Linked DNA regions of Homo sapiens: all the other regions are linked to region 5. The links are contacts of gene promoters, found by promoter capture Hi-C in blood cells and fetal thymus (Javierre and others, 2016). All regions are on one chromosome and are shown on one strand. The core of a region is centred on a gene start or on the middle of the fragment in contact, and the rest is flanking DNA. Distances in the headings are between cores, read along the strand shown.

The links. The method cuts DNA at HindIII sites, captures the fragments that hold promoters and counts their contacts. A CHiCAGO score of 5 or more calls a contact.
Region 1: a fragment that was not itself captured here is called in contact with the fragment with the promoter of CAP1 in region 5 in 3 of 17 cell types (M1 macrophages, M2 macrophages and monocytes); the score reaches 6.0 in M1 macrophages.
Region 2: a contact is called between a fragment that was not itself captured here and the fragment with the promoter of CAP1 in region 5, in 1 of 17 cell types (endothelial precursors). The highest score is 5.3, in endothelial precursors.
Region 3: a contact is called between a fragment that was not itself captured here and the fragment with the promoter of CAP1 in region 5, in 2 of 17 cell types (M0 macrophages and megakaryocytes). The highest score is 6.8, in M0 macrophages.
Region 4: a contact is called between a fragment that was not itself captured here and the fragment with the promoter of CAP1 in region 5, in 1 of 17 cell types (monocytes). The highest score is 5.3, in monocytes.

The regions. Positions count from the first base shown.
Region 1 is chr1:39,893,030-39,895,729 of GRCh38, reverse strand. MYCL (MYCL proto-oncogene, bHLH transcription factor) reads left to right here. Exons shown (of 2, transcript NM_001033081.3): 2 at 1-302. All of the region lies in intron 1 of MYCL-AS1 (MYCL antisense RNA 1), which reads right to left. Among named protein-coding and RNA genes, the nearest start is that of MYCL, 7.5 kb to the left of the region's middle. The HindIII fragment of the contact is 183 bases long and covers 1,169-1,351 here.
Region 2 is chr1:39,835,734-39,838,433 of GRCh38, reverse strand. TRIT1 (tRNA isopentenyltransferase 1) reads left to right here. Exons shown (of 11, transcript NM_017646.6): 11 at 1-324. LOC105378667 (a long non-coding RNA gene) reads right to left here. Exons shown (of 4, transcript XR_947221.3): 4 at 479-557. Among named protein-coding and RNA genes, the nearest start is that of LINC02811, 20 kb to the right of the region's middle. RefSeq lists a silencer at 1,331-1,531. The HindIII fragment of the contact is 772 bases long and covers 929-1,700 here.
Region 3 is chr1:39,790,670-39,793,369 of GRCh38, reverse strand. No RefSeq gene overlaps it. Among named protein-coding and RNA genes, the nearest start is that of BMP8B, 3.2 kb to the right of the region's middle. The HindIII fragment of the contact is 2,562 bases long and covers 69-2,630 here.
Region 4 is chr1:39,874,441-39,877,140 of GRCh38, reverse strand. The region is part of intron 1 of TRIT1 (tRNA isopentenyltransferase 1); the gene reads left to right. Among named protein-coding and RNA genes, the nearest start is that of MYCL-AS1, 7.4 kb to the left of the region's middle. The HindIII fragment of the contact is 5,261 bases long and covers 1-2,700 here.
Region 5 is chr1:40,039,279-40,041,978 of GRCh38, reverse strand. CAP1 (cyclase associated actin cytoskeleton regulatory protein 1) reads right to left here and starts at 1,250. Exons shown (of 13, transcript NM_006367.4): 1 at 1,178-1,250. It overlaps LOC105378669 (a long non-coding RNA gene), which reads left to right and starts at 1,533. Exons shown (of 3, transcript XR_001738013.3): 1 at 1,533-2,700. RefSeq lists enhancers at 951-1,040, 1,111-1,310, 964-1,598, 1,561-1,630, 1,599-2,232. The HindIII fragment of the contact is 17,502 bases long and covers 1-2,700 here.

The DNA of each region.
Region 1 (2,700 bases), core at 11-2,510, 150 kb after region 5:
GACAGTTTGGGTGTAGGTTACTGATGTCTCAACTGAATAGCTTGTGTTTTATAAGCTGCTGTTGGCTATTATGCTGGGGGAGTCTTTTTTTTTTATATTGTATTTTTGTATGCCTTTTGCAAAGTGGTGTTAACTGTTTTTGTACAAGGAAAAAAACTCTTGGGGCAATTTCCTGTTGCAAGGGTCTGATTTATTTTGAAAGGCAAGTTCACCTGAAATTTTGTATTTAGTTGTGATTACTGATTGCCTGATTTTAAAATGTTGCCTTCTGGGACATCTTCTAATAAAAGATTTCTCAAACATGTCAGAGTGGGGGCAGCTTATGCCACCTGAGTCCTCCTCAACCACGGAAAACTATTTCAGGGTAGCCACAAGTGATCCAGAGGGCTGCACTTCTCTAACCATGTTGCTAACCTGGTCATTCCACTCTGGGTTCCTGAAATGCCATTTCAGACATGTTGAAACAATGTAGGCTCAGTACTCAGTGAACACGGAATTCTCTTGTGAATTGCAAAGAGTGCTGAATTTGTACTTTAGAAGGCTTGAAATCCTGGCTCCACCACTTCTGCAGCCTTTAGTTTCATCTTTCTGAGTCCTAGTTTCCTTATCGGTAAAATGGGGATAAATGCTACTTCACTGGGTTTTTGCAGGTATTAAATGAAGGGGTAGACTTAAAACTGCTTTCTAAACTATAAAGCCTTATACTCTTTAGGATGGTGTTATTCTTATCTTAGTGGTATGATGACCTTCTGCAAGATGTCTTTTAAAGTTTTTTTCTGAGAATTTATGTTGCAATGTACTTTTTTCTTACAGAAAGATAGTTTTAAAATTCTTTCTCCTGGCTGGGTGCAGTGGCTTATGCCTGTAATCCCAGCACTTTGCGAGGCTGAGGCAGGCAGACTGCTTGAGCTCAGGAGTTCAAGACCAGCCTGGGCAACATGGCAAAAACCCATGTCTACAAAAAATACAAAAATTAGCCAGGCATGGTGGTACACGCCTGTAGTCCCAACTACTCGGGAGGCTGAGGTGGGAGGATGGCTTGAGCCTGGGAGGCAGAGGTTGCAGTGAGCCAAGATTGCGCCACTGCACTCCAGCCTGGGCAACAGAGCCAGACCCTGTCTCAAAAAAAACATTCTTCCTCCTTAATTAATGAAAGAAAGTTTAAGCTTCATTTTCCTCCCATAGTTCTCATAAACTTGCTGTAAATGCAAGACAGGGGAATTCAGTAATAGCTGTTCCTCATAGGGCACTGCTTATGTCTGAACACTCTGCCATATCAACCATGTGTCAGGGCTACAGATGAAGAAACTGAGGTTCTAAGAGTAAACAAAGCTATGCAAATTCACAAGCTTGTAATTCAGTTGTGATTTGAAACCAGCTCTGCCTATCTCCAGAGCAAGAGGTCTTAGTCACTATATTATGATGATCAGCTTGTTTGTTAGCACGGGGTATGTGGAGAAGGTAAACGTGGAATTCCGTCATTTAACTGCTTGTTGTAACTCTCTTTGGGGCTATTGTGCCTGCCACTTATTGGGATGAAATGGAGCAAATGTCCCATGACCAGCAACTCTGAGGCATATGTGTGCTGGGTGGCATAGTCTTGCTGCAAAGGGGCCCCATCTGGGACTGAAAAGCAATCAGTTGCTGTTCAGGATGGCCATGAGCATCATGGTGAAAGAAGCCTCCACTAACTCCTCCTTACAGATGGGACTTGGGTTGGTATTGCCCACCCGAATTCCTATGGAGCCTCAGTACGGTCAAAAAGCTCCTCTTAATTCCTCACATTTACAAAATGACCCTCTTGTGACCCTCCAACCTGGTAAGTAAGCAATATCTGCCTGATGGTACTGGAGCCCAGAGAGTTTTCTTGCTCAAAGTCATAGCAAAATCAGGATTCCAAGCCCAGTCTCCTATCAGGTAAGCTTTTTCCACTTGTCCCCCACTGCACATAGGTAACACACTTAGAACCTAAGAAACTGTTTGGTAAAACTGACATGGATTATTGGAACTCTTTTCTTAAAACTCCCAGTGTATTTTTCTTCCTTTTTTGAGGCCATTAGTCAAGGGTCTGGTTTGTAGGACGTATCTCCCTTTACTGGACCTTGAAAGAATTCAATAAAAATTTTTGAAAGCACTTAGTACAATAGTATGGACCCATGGGTACAGGCATGAATGTTAGTAGTTTTGCATATCTTAATTCTTACAATAACTTGGAGAGCAGGATGCTGTCAGCCCCATTTCACAGAAAAGCCAACTGAAGCTCAGAGACATTTAAGTTGTTTGCCTAAGCCCACACACCTAGTACCAGCTGCCTGACTCCAAGCTTCAGCTCTTTTGAGTCAACTCTGCTGAGAAAGGAGTGGGAATAAAGCCATCTCCTGGGGGAAGGGAGGGTGTTTCTGGAATGCGAAGTATTTTAAGCTCCTTCCTAGCTCTTTTCTACAGACTCCTACCTCTATCTTTGTCTGAAAATAGTCAGGAGTTTATTCCTGGATTTCAGAGGACAATTTCTACAAATTAGGTTTGCCTCTGAATAATGCACCTAAGGGATCACACTCCCAACTCAGGACATAGACAATACGGGGTGACCCAGAAGCCACACTTGGTGTAGCAAAGAGAGAAGGACATCATCTCTGTTAGACAATAAAAGGCTAAAGTGTATGTTTAACTTCTGCCTCTGTTGGCAGTTATTTTGGGGAA
Region 2 (2,700 bases), core at 65-2,564, 200 kb after region 5:
ACCTTTTATGAATGCAGTGACTTGTCAATATCCCTAGCACCTAGACACAGTCAAATATTTGTTGAATCAATTGCATGAAAGCATAAAAACTAAGTAGGTCTCTACATAAGTGATCTGCTTCAATTGTTAAATACTTTTTAACCAGGATGAAGAAATTTTGGGATAGCCACCAGCAGGAATTTCTGTATTTGATTATCACCTACTTGGGCAGTTAAGGCTGTTTTCTAAAATGATGGCTAACTGGTTATTTGTAAAGCTACTCTGAATGCTTACAAAGGAAGCTGCATGTTTGTATTAGTTCAGGTAAAAGGCTAAGTTGCTATAACAAAGAGACTCAACAATACAGTGGCTTAAAGAACAAAGAAGTTTATTCTTTCTCACGTAACAGCTCTGAAGGGAATTAACCTGTCTGAAGTGAGTGATCCAGGTCATTGGGGCAGCTGTGCACCAAATGGTCATTCAGGGACACAGATTCCTCGTATCATGTTGCTTCTCCATCCTCTGGAGCATTGTCCTCATCTGCTGCATGCTTGAAGCTGGGTCATCACTGGTCCTAGCTGATGGGAAGGGGAAAAGGAACAGGGAGGAGGTAGACCCGCTGCCTCAAGGCCTGGACCCTGCAGTGGCACGGATACTTCTGCCTACATTCTCACTTTCCATTGGCAATGACTTAGCCCGATGGCCACACCTACCTGCCAGGAAGGCTGAGAAACGTAGTCAAGCCATGTGCCAAGAAGGAATGGGAGGACAGGTTTTGGTGGGCAACTTACAGTCACCACTAGATTGGTATCATGGAAGGAGCACTCAATTCCAGGCTCATTTAACTAATTAATTTAACTCAGTTTGCTAGGGGCAAATCTATTTCTCCATCTGTGAAATTAGTGAGTTGTATTGAGCTGACCTCTGAAATATTTCAAAAAGTAAAGCTTGAGAAAATCCTGGCTGGTAGGACTTTAAGATGAGAATAAGAAAGCATTATAGGGAATGGGAGACTGTATAAACATCAGGGCCAGTGGCTCATACTGTAAAGATGGTGGGGAGGAAAGATGGAAGGTGTTTTGGTGGCATTGTTGAATAACTGAACTAATGACTTAACTGCCTACTTTCAGACTTTATGTGGCAGGGAGGGGACAGGGGGAGAAAGAAACCACTATTTGTATTTGCAGCTGAACACTTTACTTTCTAATATACTATCTGTGTGATCTTGGGAATATTGCTTAAAAGCCTGTTTCCTCATGTATAAAATGAAGTTATCTGTATTCCACGGGACATGGTAAGGATTAAGTGAGGTCCTGTTGTAAATAGCATAGTGTTTTGGCACTGTAGTGCCCAGTAAATGGTAAGTACAAATTGGATTTATTTGCTTCATTGGGGAAAAATTGTTAATGCTATTAAAATGTTGGTTTATGATATGGTATCATTTCTTGGAAGTTATCAGGGCAAGCTCTGACTTAAGACTGACTAGTTTGGTGGACTATAGTACTAATGGCCAGAAACGGTGCCTCGGGCTTCAGCTGCCACCCACCTAGGCTTCAGCTGTTAAGTTTTGTTTGTTTCAATGATATGATTTCTTCCATGGGTCAGCTCATTTGCTTGAACTGTTTTCTTCCCTTGAAATGTCCTTTCCCCTGCTCTTTACCTAGTGAACTCCTGCACATCCTTCAAGGCCCAGATCTGATGTCCTCTCCTTAGAAAAAGCTTCTTTGACTCTAGGGAGACTTAATTTCTCCTCCTAGCAGTTAATACGTAATAGTGTTAACATTAGCTGGTGCTTAGGTAGTCCTATGAGCTAGGCACTGCTTTAAGCACTTTTACACATATTAACTCATTTAATCCTCACAAAGCCCTATGAGGTAGTTTTGTCATTGTTCTTGTTGTCTCTGTCTTACAACTGAGGAAACTGAGTAGAGCAGTTAGGTGACTTTCCCAAGGGCAAGCTGGGATTTGAAAATAGGTGGGTGGCTCCAGAGTCTGTTCTGGCTCATTATTTTGCCACAGCTCATAGCACCTGTTATTTATCTCTTGTTCCCACTGGAAAGTAAATTCTGCCAGGATCTGAGTACTATTTTAAGATGATTGTGGAACATATAGTGGGCACCCAATGTATATCGAGGCTAATTTCTGCAAGACACACCTCCCTGTCTAAACGTAGACATGGCTTCTCTGTGTTGAGTGCTTCTGTGTGTCAGGCATTATATCAAGCACATGCATACGTTATAATGATTCCTTAAAACAAACGGACAAGATAATCTGTTATCACCATTTTATAAACACAGCTTAATGAACAGTGGTTGGCACAGAGTAAACATGCAAATATTTGCCGAGTAGCAGAGATAAAGCTTGGTGAGGGCAGCGATGTTTGTCTGTTGTTCACTGCTTTATCCCTGGCATCTACAAGGGCCTGCTGCTTAAAAGCACTTATTTGTGTTTTTGTTTTTTTACTTGAAGTCAGCCTTTTATTTTTATCCAGATTTATTGAGATATAATCGACAGATAAAATTATATATATTTAAACTATATAAAGTGATTTTATATATGTGTATATATGTATGTGTGTATCTATCTATCTATCTATCTATCTATCTGTCTATCCATCTATCTATCTATACCACCATCAAGTTAGTTAACACATCCCATAAACATTTGTTGAGCTAGGATTTGAAGCCAGTTTGGGCTGACTCCAAACTCATACTCTAACCA
Region 3 (2,700 bases), core at 100-2,599, 250 kb after region 5:
AGTGCTGGGAGTACAGGCATTAGCCACTGCGCTCAGGCTTTCCTGTAGCATCTTTCTTATGGAAAGCTTTTCTCTGCTTTTTAAAATTGTTTCTTTTCATTTTCTATATGCAGTAGGTATTAGCAGTCATGAATTTAACCTTATGGTTTCAGTCATGAAGATTCATGGATTTGCATTTGTTGCTGATGTACAAGAGAGCCGGTCACACAGCGAAGAGAGTGAGCCCCACTGGCCACTGACTCCTCACTTTAACACAGCTTGGTGCTTCTGTTCTTCATCCCCGTGAAATAATGAGCACTTCTCAATGGAAGCACTTCTTACTGAGTTCATGAAGGTTGCGAGATCCGTTCCTTGAAGCTGTTGAGAGACTCTTGTTTTCAGAGGCTATTTCAGAGAAACAGAGGCTACTCTGTTTCACACATACTTACTGAAACCCTAAATGCAAGCCTCGCACTGGGATCCAAAGGTAAATTAAGATGATGGTCCCTGCCTGCAGAAGCTCTCAGCCTAGTGCAGGGAACAAACATGTGAATACATGCCCTTTTATTTTGTAAAAGGAGTGGTTGAGAGAGTGAGGAAGGAAGAAATGGCTCTGCTCATGAAGGTGAAGAGGGCATCAGGAAAAGGAGGTGTTACTTCAACTGCATCTTAAAGGGAGGTAACACCTGACCAGACAGGGAAAGGGGTTTCCCTTCTTGGTACAGGAAACCACATGTTCAGGTGAACAGAAGTGTCAACAGGAGGACAGGTAGGAGGACCACAAGTATTCCCATGGGACTGCAGCCAAGTATATGGGGTTAGCAGCCAGATAAGACTGTGGAGATTGGCCAGGCGCGGTGGCTCACACCTGTAATCCCAGCACTTTGGGAGGCCAAGGCGGGCGGATCATGAGGTCAGGAGATTGAGACCATCCTGGCTAACACAGTGAAACCCTGTCTCTACTAAAAATGCAAAAAAAAAAAAAAATATATTAGCCAGGCGTGGTGGCGGGCGCCTGTAGTCCCAGCTACTAGGGAGGCTGAGGCAGGAGAATGGCGTGAACCCGGGAGGTGGAGCTTGCAGTGAGCCGAGACTGCGCCACTGCACTGTAGCCTGGGCGACAGAGCAAGACTCCGTCTCAAAAACAAAAACAAAACAAAACAAAAAAACTGTGGAGATGGGTCAGCAGCAGGGGCCAGGTGATGATGCCAGACCACTGGGTCCTGGGCGCTTATCACCTTGTGCCTTGCTGGTCCCCAAGATGTGGTCCTCAAAAAACTAAAAAGCTATAGTCACATGCATTTGGAAGAAGCCAAGTTAAGGCTAAACAGGTTTTTATTTATTTATTTATTTAATTTACTTATTTATTTATTTTTACTGCAGGATTTCTAGAGCTTACAAAGTGCTAAGTGCATGAGGGCTCTACCAAGGGGGAAATATATAGCGCAGTGTGTACTGAACCCCTTTTGCAGGAAAGCCCTCAGAATCCTCACCTGGGGAAATTCTGCTGTAAGCAATGAAAGGCCATGGAAGGATTCAGATTTTCATTTGGAAATATGCATTCTGCGGAATGAGTGAGGGCTGGGTGGGGTGGGTAGTGAGATGAGACATAAGGAGACCAGTGGGGAGGAGGTGCTCCATGAAACACCTGAGTGCAAAGGGGCGTGCACAGGCTCAGGGATTCAAGAGGCATTTGAAGGTAGAATCAATAGACTGAACTGCCCTTGGGAGGGAGGGACGTGTGTCTGCGCCAGGGTTTTGGCTTCTGGCTCTGGTCATGTCTTATCGGTCATTGGATGTAGCTTCTGGCATCTAGCAGGAAGGCCTGCCCTACTAATATATTTGGAGTTGGGTGTGACTGTATGGCGGCACTGAAGCCTCAGTGGATGAGCTCATCACCAGGTCAAGTCTAAGGGGAGAACAGGACTGTGGACAGACCCAGCAGACATCCATGTTTTAGAAGTGGGCAGGGAGGAGTGGTCAGCAAGGGAGCAGGCGTCCTTGAAGCCAGGGGAGGACAGGGTTTCAAAAACAAGAGAGCAGTGTGTAGTAACCCTCCACATGCAAGTTACAACAGCAGAGAGGTTTTCATCTATCAAACCAGCAGAGATTGATTTATTTATGTATTTAACAGTTATATCTAGTGTTGGTAAGGGTGATAGAAAATAAGCACCCTCGTGCTATTGGGGCAACAGATAATATGTATCAAAAACCATAAAAAGTGTATATGCTCTTTGATTCAAATATTCCATCTCTAGACGCCTGTAATCCCAGCACTTTGGGAAGCTGGGGTGGGCAGATCACCTGAGCCCAGGAGTTCAAGACTAGCCTGTCCAACATGGCAAAACCCTGTGTATACTAAAAATACAAAAATTAGCCAGGCATGGTGGTGCACGCCTGTAATCCCAGCTGCTCAGGGGGCTGAGGCACAAAGACCACTTGAGGCGGAGGCTGCAGTGAGCCAAGATCATACCATTGCACTCCAGCCTGGGTGACAGAGCAAGACTCCATCTCAAAAAAAAAAAAAAAAAATCCATCTCTAGAAATTCATCCTAAAGAAATCACCATGGATGTGCACAGATTATTCTACAAGATTGTTCATAACAACATAGTATATAATATAAAAATATAATTATCCCATAACATAAGCTTGATTAAAAAAATTATGATAACAATATGATGAAAAAATACCACGAAGCCAGTAAAAAAAGTGTGCAATAA
Region 4 (2,700 bases), core at 190-2,689, 170 kb after region 5:
AGATATGGGATGCTTGGGGGAGGGATATGAAAGGAGAGATGGGATGGTGGATCACAGTGGCTTAATAAAATGTGAAATAAAAGGCTTGAAGACCTGTTTTTTTTTTTTTTTTTTTTTTTTTGAAGACCCATTAACCAGGAGAAAAGGGGTCTATCTGGAAGGTATTTGCCACAACTGACAAAGGCAGTCCTTTTTTTTTTGTTTTTTTTTTTTGAGATGGAGTCTTGCTGTGTCACCCAGGCTGGAGTGCAGTGACTCCATCTCGGCCCACTGCAACCTAAGCCTCCCAAGTTCTAGCCATTCTCCTGCCTCAGCCTCCTGAGTAGCTGGGACTACAGGCGCCCGCCACCACGCCTGGCTAATTTTTTGTATTTTTAGTAGAGACAGGGTTTCACCGTGTTAGCCAGGATGGTCTCAATCTCCTGACCTCAGGTGATCCGCCAGCCTCGGCCTCTCAAAGTGCTGTGATTACAAGCGTGAGCCACTGCACCCAGCCAAAGGCAGTCTTTTAGAAGGACTGAGACTTACAAGAGGCTAAAAAGGAAATCTCAAAATTTTCGACTCATCATTCATATATATATATAGATAGATAGATAGATAGATAGATAGATACACATATAAATAATGAGTTTCTAGGTCCCTTGGTTCACCTCCATTGTAAGTGAATTTAGTTTTCTTTTGGCTGCAGTATTAAGCTGTGTATGTTGTACATATGTGGTCATGTTTTTGCACCTACAGGGAGAACTTTGGAGTCAAATCTGTGTTATATAAGGAAGGAGAAGTGACTACTGGCCAAACAGGAAACCATAGGAGAGCACAGATGAGGCTTGCAGATTCAGATTCATGAGGATGAGTGCTACCCTGATGTTTCAGTGCCTGAGGCAGGGTGTTGAAGCAGCTCCACTTCAAAAAGATATATTTGAGGAGTAAAAGTTACTTGGGGTATATAGGAATTCACATATGTGCTCCATTATGATTTAATGGAATTGGTTTTGTTTTTCTGTGTAGTTTTGGATTCCTCAGAAACTTGAATCAGACCAGGACCCTGTTGGCCTCTTGATCCCTTTGGGGCTCTGCTTGTGAGTAGCAGCCTCCCTGTACCTCCCTCATTGTGGCAGTCAGAGTTCAAGCCCTCATTACAGGAATGATCATAATAATTATACTACTGAAGATAATAGCAAGAATAATATATATGTCAGGCAGTTCTAAAAGTTTGACAAATATTATCTAATATCCTTACCGTAGCCTTTTGCCGTGGGTGCTGTTATTGTCTCCTCCCTACCAAAAATTACTTTATTAAATCCTCATCTCCATGCTGTTTTATACTTTTTCCTCTAACTCTTATTTATTTATTCATTCATCCTCCATCCCATTCTTTTCCTCTGTACCACTGTGTACATTTTATCAAGCAGAAAAGTGGGAAGAATAATATTACTGACAAAAGAACAGTATGGGCAAAGTTAAGAAAATGCATGGTATGTTTTCAAGGAATGACCAGCAACTATCTGGCATAGAGGGTACTTGAGGGACAGTGGTAGGAGGTAAAACTAAAAATATAGACCCTGGGAACAAATTTTTGAGGCCCTCAAAAGTCATGCCATGAGGTTTGAGGTTTTAAAGAGGGAAGTGGTAGTAAGTCTATTTTTTTTTTTCAAGACAGAGTCTCGCTCTGTCACCCAGGCTGGAGTGCAGTGGCGCAATCTCAGCTCACTGCAACCTCCACCTCCCGGGTTCAAGCAAGTCTCCTGCCTTAGCCTCCTGAGTAGCTGGGATTACAGACGCATGCCACCACGCCTGGCTAATTTTTGTATTTTTGGTAGAGACAGGGTTTCACCATGTTGGTCAGGCTGGTCTCGAACTCCTGACCTCGTGATCTGCCCACCTCGGGCTCCCAAAGGGTTGGAATTACAGGCGTGAGCCACTGCACCTGGCCTGTAAATCTATTTTATGAAGTAACTGGGTGGAGAGTGGGTTAGAGAAGGAAAAACAGTTTAGGATTCTGTTACATTAGTCTGGGTGAGAGAGGCTGGAGTTGGGCTTTGGCTGGAGAGAATAGGTAACCATTTTGATATTTTGTAAACAGAACCAACAGGATTTTGGTTATTGAATTGGAAGCACTATGAAAAAAATGAGAACAAAGCATTTTTGTGTTCAGAAAAATGAGACATGCGGGGGCCGGGCACAGTGGCTCACGCCTATAATTCCAGCACTTTGGGAGGCTGAGGCGGGCAGATCACCTGAGGTCAGGAGCTCGAGACCAGCCTGACCAACATGGAGAAACCCTATCTCCACTAAAAATACAAAAAAATTAGTCAAGCATGGTGGTGCATGCCTGTAATCTCAGCTACTCAGGAGACTAAGGCAGGAGAATCACTTGAACCCAGGAGGCGGAGGTTGCAGTGAGCCGAGATCACGCCATTGCACTCCAGCCTGGGCAACAAGAGCGAAACTCCATCTCAAAAAAAAAAAGAAAAGAAAAATGAGACATGCTTATTAAAAAAATCCAATAATACTGAAAAGTACAGAGACAATTTAACCATAGTCTTAGCATCCTGGAGTAATGATTTTGGTTCACATCCTTCCAGACATTTGTATATATATTTAAGCACATGTGTCATGTGTGTATATGTTATTACATAAATTGACTCAGAGGTTAGATACTATTCTATTTTCTTTTAACACTATGTTATGGATATCTTT
Region 5 (2,700 bases), core at 1-2,500:
GAGAGAGCCCCACAAAGAGCTTCAACTGACACAGTTCTGATGCTAACCTGTCTCAAATGTTCTCATTCCACTCTTCGAACGCATTCCTATTTATCCTTCAAAATTCATCTTAAAAACTCTGCTTCTTCAGAAGGGCTTTTCCTGAACCCCCTGTTACATACTTTCAGAGCACCCTGTTCTTTCCTAACACTCATCAACATTTATAATTACTTCTTAAACATCCCTGCAAACACTGCTAGCTCCACGCGGGCAGGGTCTACATTGTTTTGTTTTAAAGCTGCATTCCCCGCATCTGGGAAAATGCTGGCACAGAATAAACACAATTTGTTACGCTGAATTTAATCTTGTGGGGTCAGCAGAGATCTCCACTTAAAAGATGAACAAAAGGAGGCTGAAAGAAGTTTAAGGCACCTATGGCCACAGACACTCAGCACTGAGGCCAGACCAAACCTGAGCCGTCTGATTTCAGGTCCAGAAGTACATACCTTCAATGTTAGCCTGGCTTGTCAAAGTAAGAGCAGCAGCCGAGGAGGAAAGGGAGGATATCTGCCTGTAAATACAAGGATGTGCCCGCCTTTCTTTTAAAAACTCCCTAGGCATTTCAAACGGCTCAATTTGGGAGGAGAGAAAAAAAAAAGTTCCACGCAGCGCTGGCCTTTAACCTGCAGCAGCCTGCGGGGCAACACCGACCGGAAGACCATCCCAAGTTAGAGAGGTTCCGAGCAACACGGGAAGAACTGGGGCTGGTTATCTAAGGCACCAGGATCATGATTCCGATTCTTTTCCTCACTCGCTATATATCTCAGACTAGCCTCTTCTCTAGGGATCAATTTACCTATCAGTGCAATGGGAGCATCAACAGGAGACAGGGAAGACTCTCCGATCTCGGAGGTTCCTTCCAGTCAGAGCACCTCAGGAATCAGGCCTCCGCTGAAGCTGATGGGCAGCGCTGCGAAATCGGGCAGAGGGGCCTCCCCGGGGCACCCGGACTCAGCTGCTCACCCCGGCCCCACCTCAAGAGACCGCGCCCAAGAGTCCGGGTCGGCCTGAGGGCCTCAGCCCCGGCCCTCTCGGCAGGGTTCATGACACGCGCGTAGGCCAGAAGGGCCATTAACACCACCAGGGGCCGATGGGCCCCGGAAGGGACCCCAATCCCTACCAAGCTGCACACCCTCACCTCAGAGTTCCGCCTCACCTCCGGACTGCGATCAGCCGCTCTCCGCTTCCGGCAAGAACCGCCCAGCAATCTCCGCGCGACCCACTTCCGGGCCCTCACTGGGCGCGGCGCCCCCACCGGAAATGAGCCGCCGGCTGAAGCGCTAGGCTGGCCCGCGACTGGGCAGGAAGTCTCACCGCCCCGCTCGTGACTCCGCCCCTCTTCGCCACGCCCCGGAGAGAGCGGCCCGGCTCTCACAGAGGGCACTTGGGAAAGAGCCCCGCCCTCAAGGCGGGAGCGACACGGGGAGGGCGGGCTCACAAGAGAGGCCACGCCCTCGTTCCGCTTTACCTACCCGGAATCGCCCCCGAGGCCCGGGCCCAGGAAGGGCAGAAGTCCCTGGCTAAGCTCCTCTCTGGAAAGAACAGAAGAGTGACCAGTTCCTCTGTCAGTTTGGTCTCAATGGCAGAGGCCGGTTCCTTTAAGCTGCAGTCCGTAAAGGGTCTTGGAACGACTGGGGGCCAGGATTCTCTGAGGGCGGGAATCCGGGCGGCCGTCAGCTCTCGGTGGTGATCGAGGCCACGCTCCGCCTGTCTCTGGGCGTGCATACCTCGGTTTCCCCGTTTGTGACGTGGGAAGGCAATTAGTCTGGACATTGTTGTGGGAGGACTTGCGGAGACTGGGCGCAGGGCGTGGGGGTCAGTGAGGGCGCGGTGGGTCAGCCCCAGCCCGGCTGGCAGTCGCGGGGCTGGGAAGGTAGGGAACCCTCCGCTCTCACCCCACTTCCTGTTTGGTCGGTGTGTTCTGTGACCATAGATGGTCAAGTCTGGGGCCGCGCGGAAGCCTCCGCCCTGTGGTTTTGGAGCCCTTCCTCCCGGCGCGCAGGGTGTGGTCCCCGAGAATAAGATGAGCAGAATTAAAGCAGATCCTGCACCCACTCTGCTGAAATCCGGCTTCTGAGGCAGCCTCGCCCAGGGCTGGGTGGGCTCAGGCGGCTGCTACTCGGTTCAGGGGAGGTTACGCACGGTGGCTGCCGCGCGCAGGGGAGGCTTCGCTTCCGTACTCCTTGGGCCGGGAGATCCGATCTTTGTTCCCTCAAGACTCACACTCTCCAACCGGTCATTATCCTCCCACAAAGATTTATTTCTAGAAAAAATTGGCAAGTGCCACAGTTCCCGCCCCTTCAGCTGAACGACTGTGACAGCTCCGTGTTTCAAGTTGAATGCAGGCGTTATGTGCCAGAGTCAATCATTCAACAAATAAAGTTCTTAAAATAACAGCTACCATTTACTGCACGCTGACTACTTGCCAGGCCCATGCTGAGTTCTTCAAGCGTATTTTCATTTACTCCTAATAGCAACTCTCGGTGGTAGGTACCATTATGCCCTCTAGTTTTCAAATGAGGAAGCTGAATAACTTGCCAAGGTCAGAAAGTAACTGTTGAAACTTTGAAGGAAACACATCTGTCTGACTCTAAATCCCATGAGCTTAATTAGCCCCTGTGATAGACCATACTGCAGACATTTGAGGCAGATTTGAGGTGG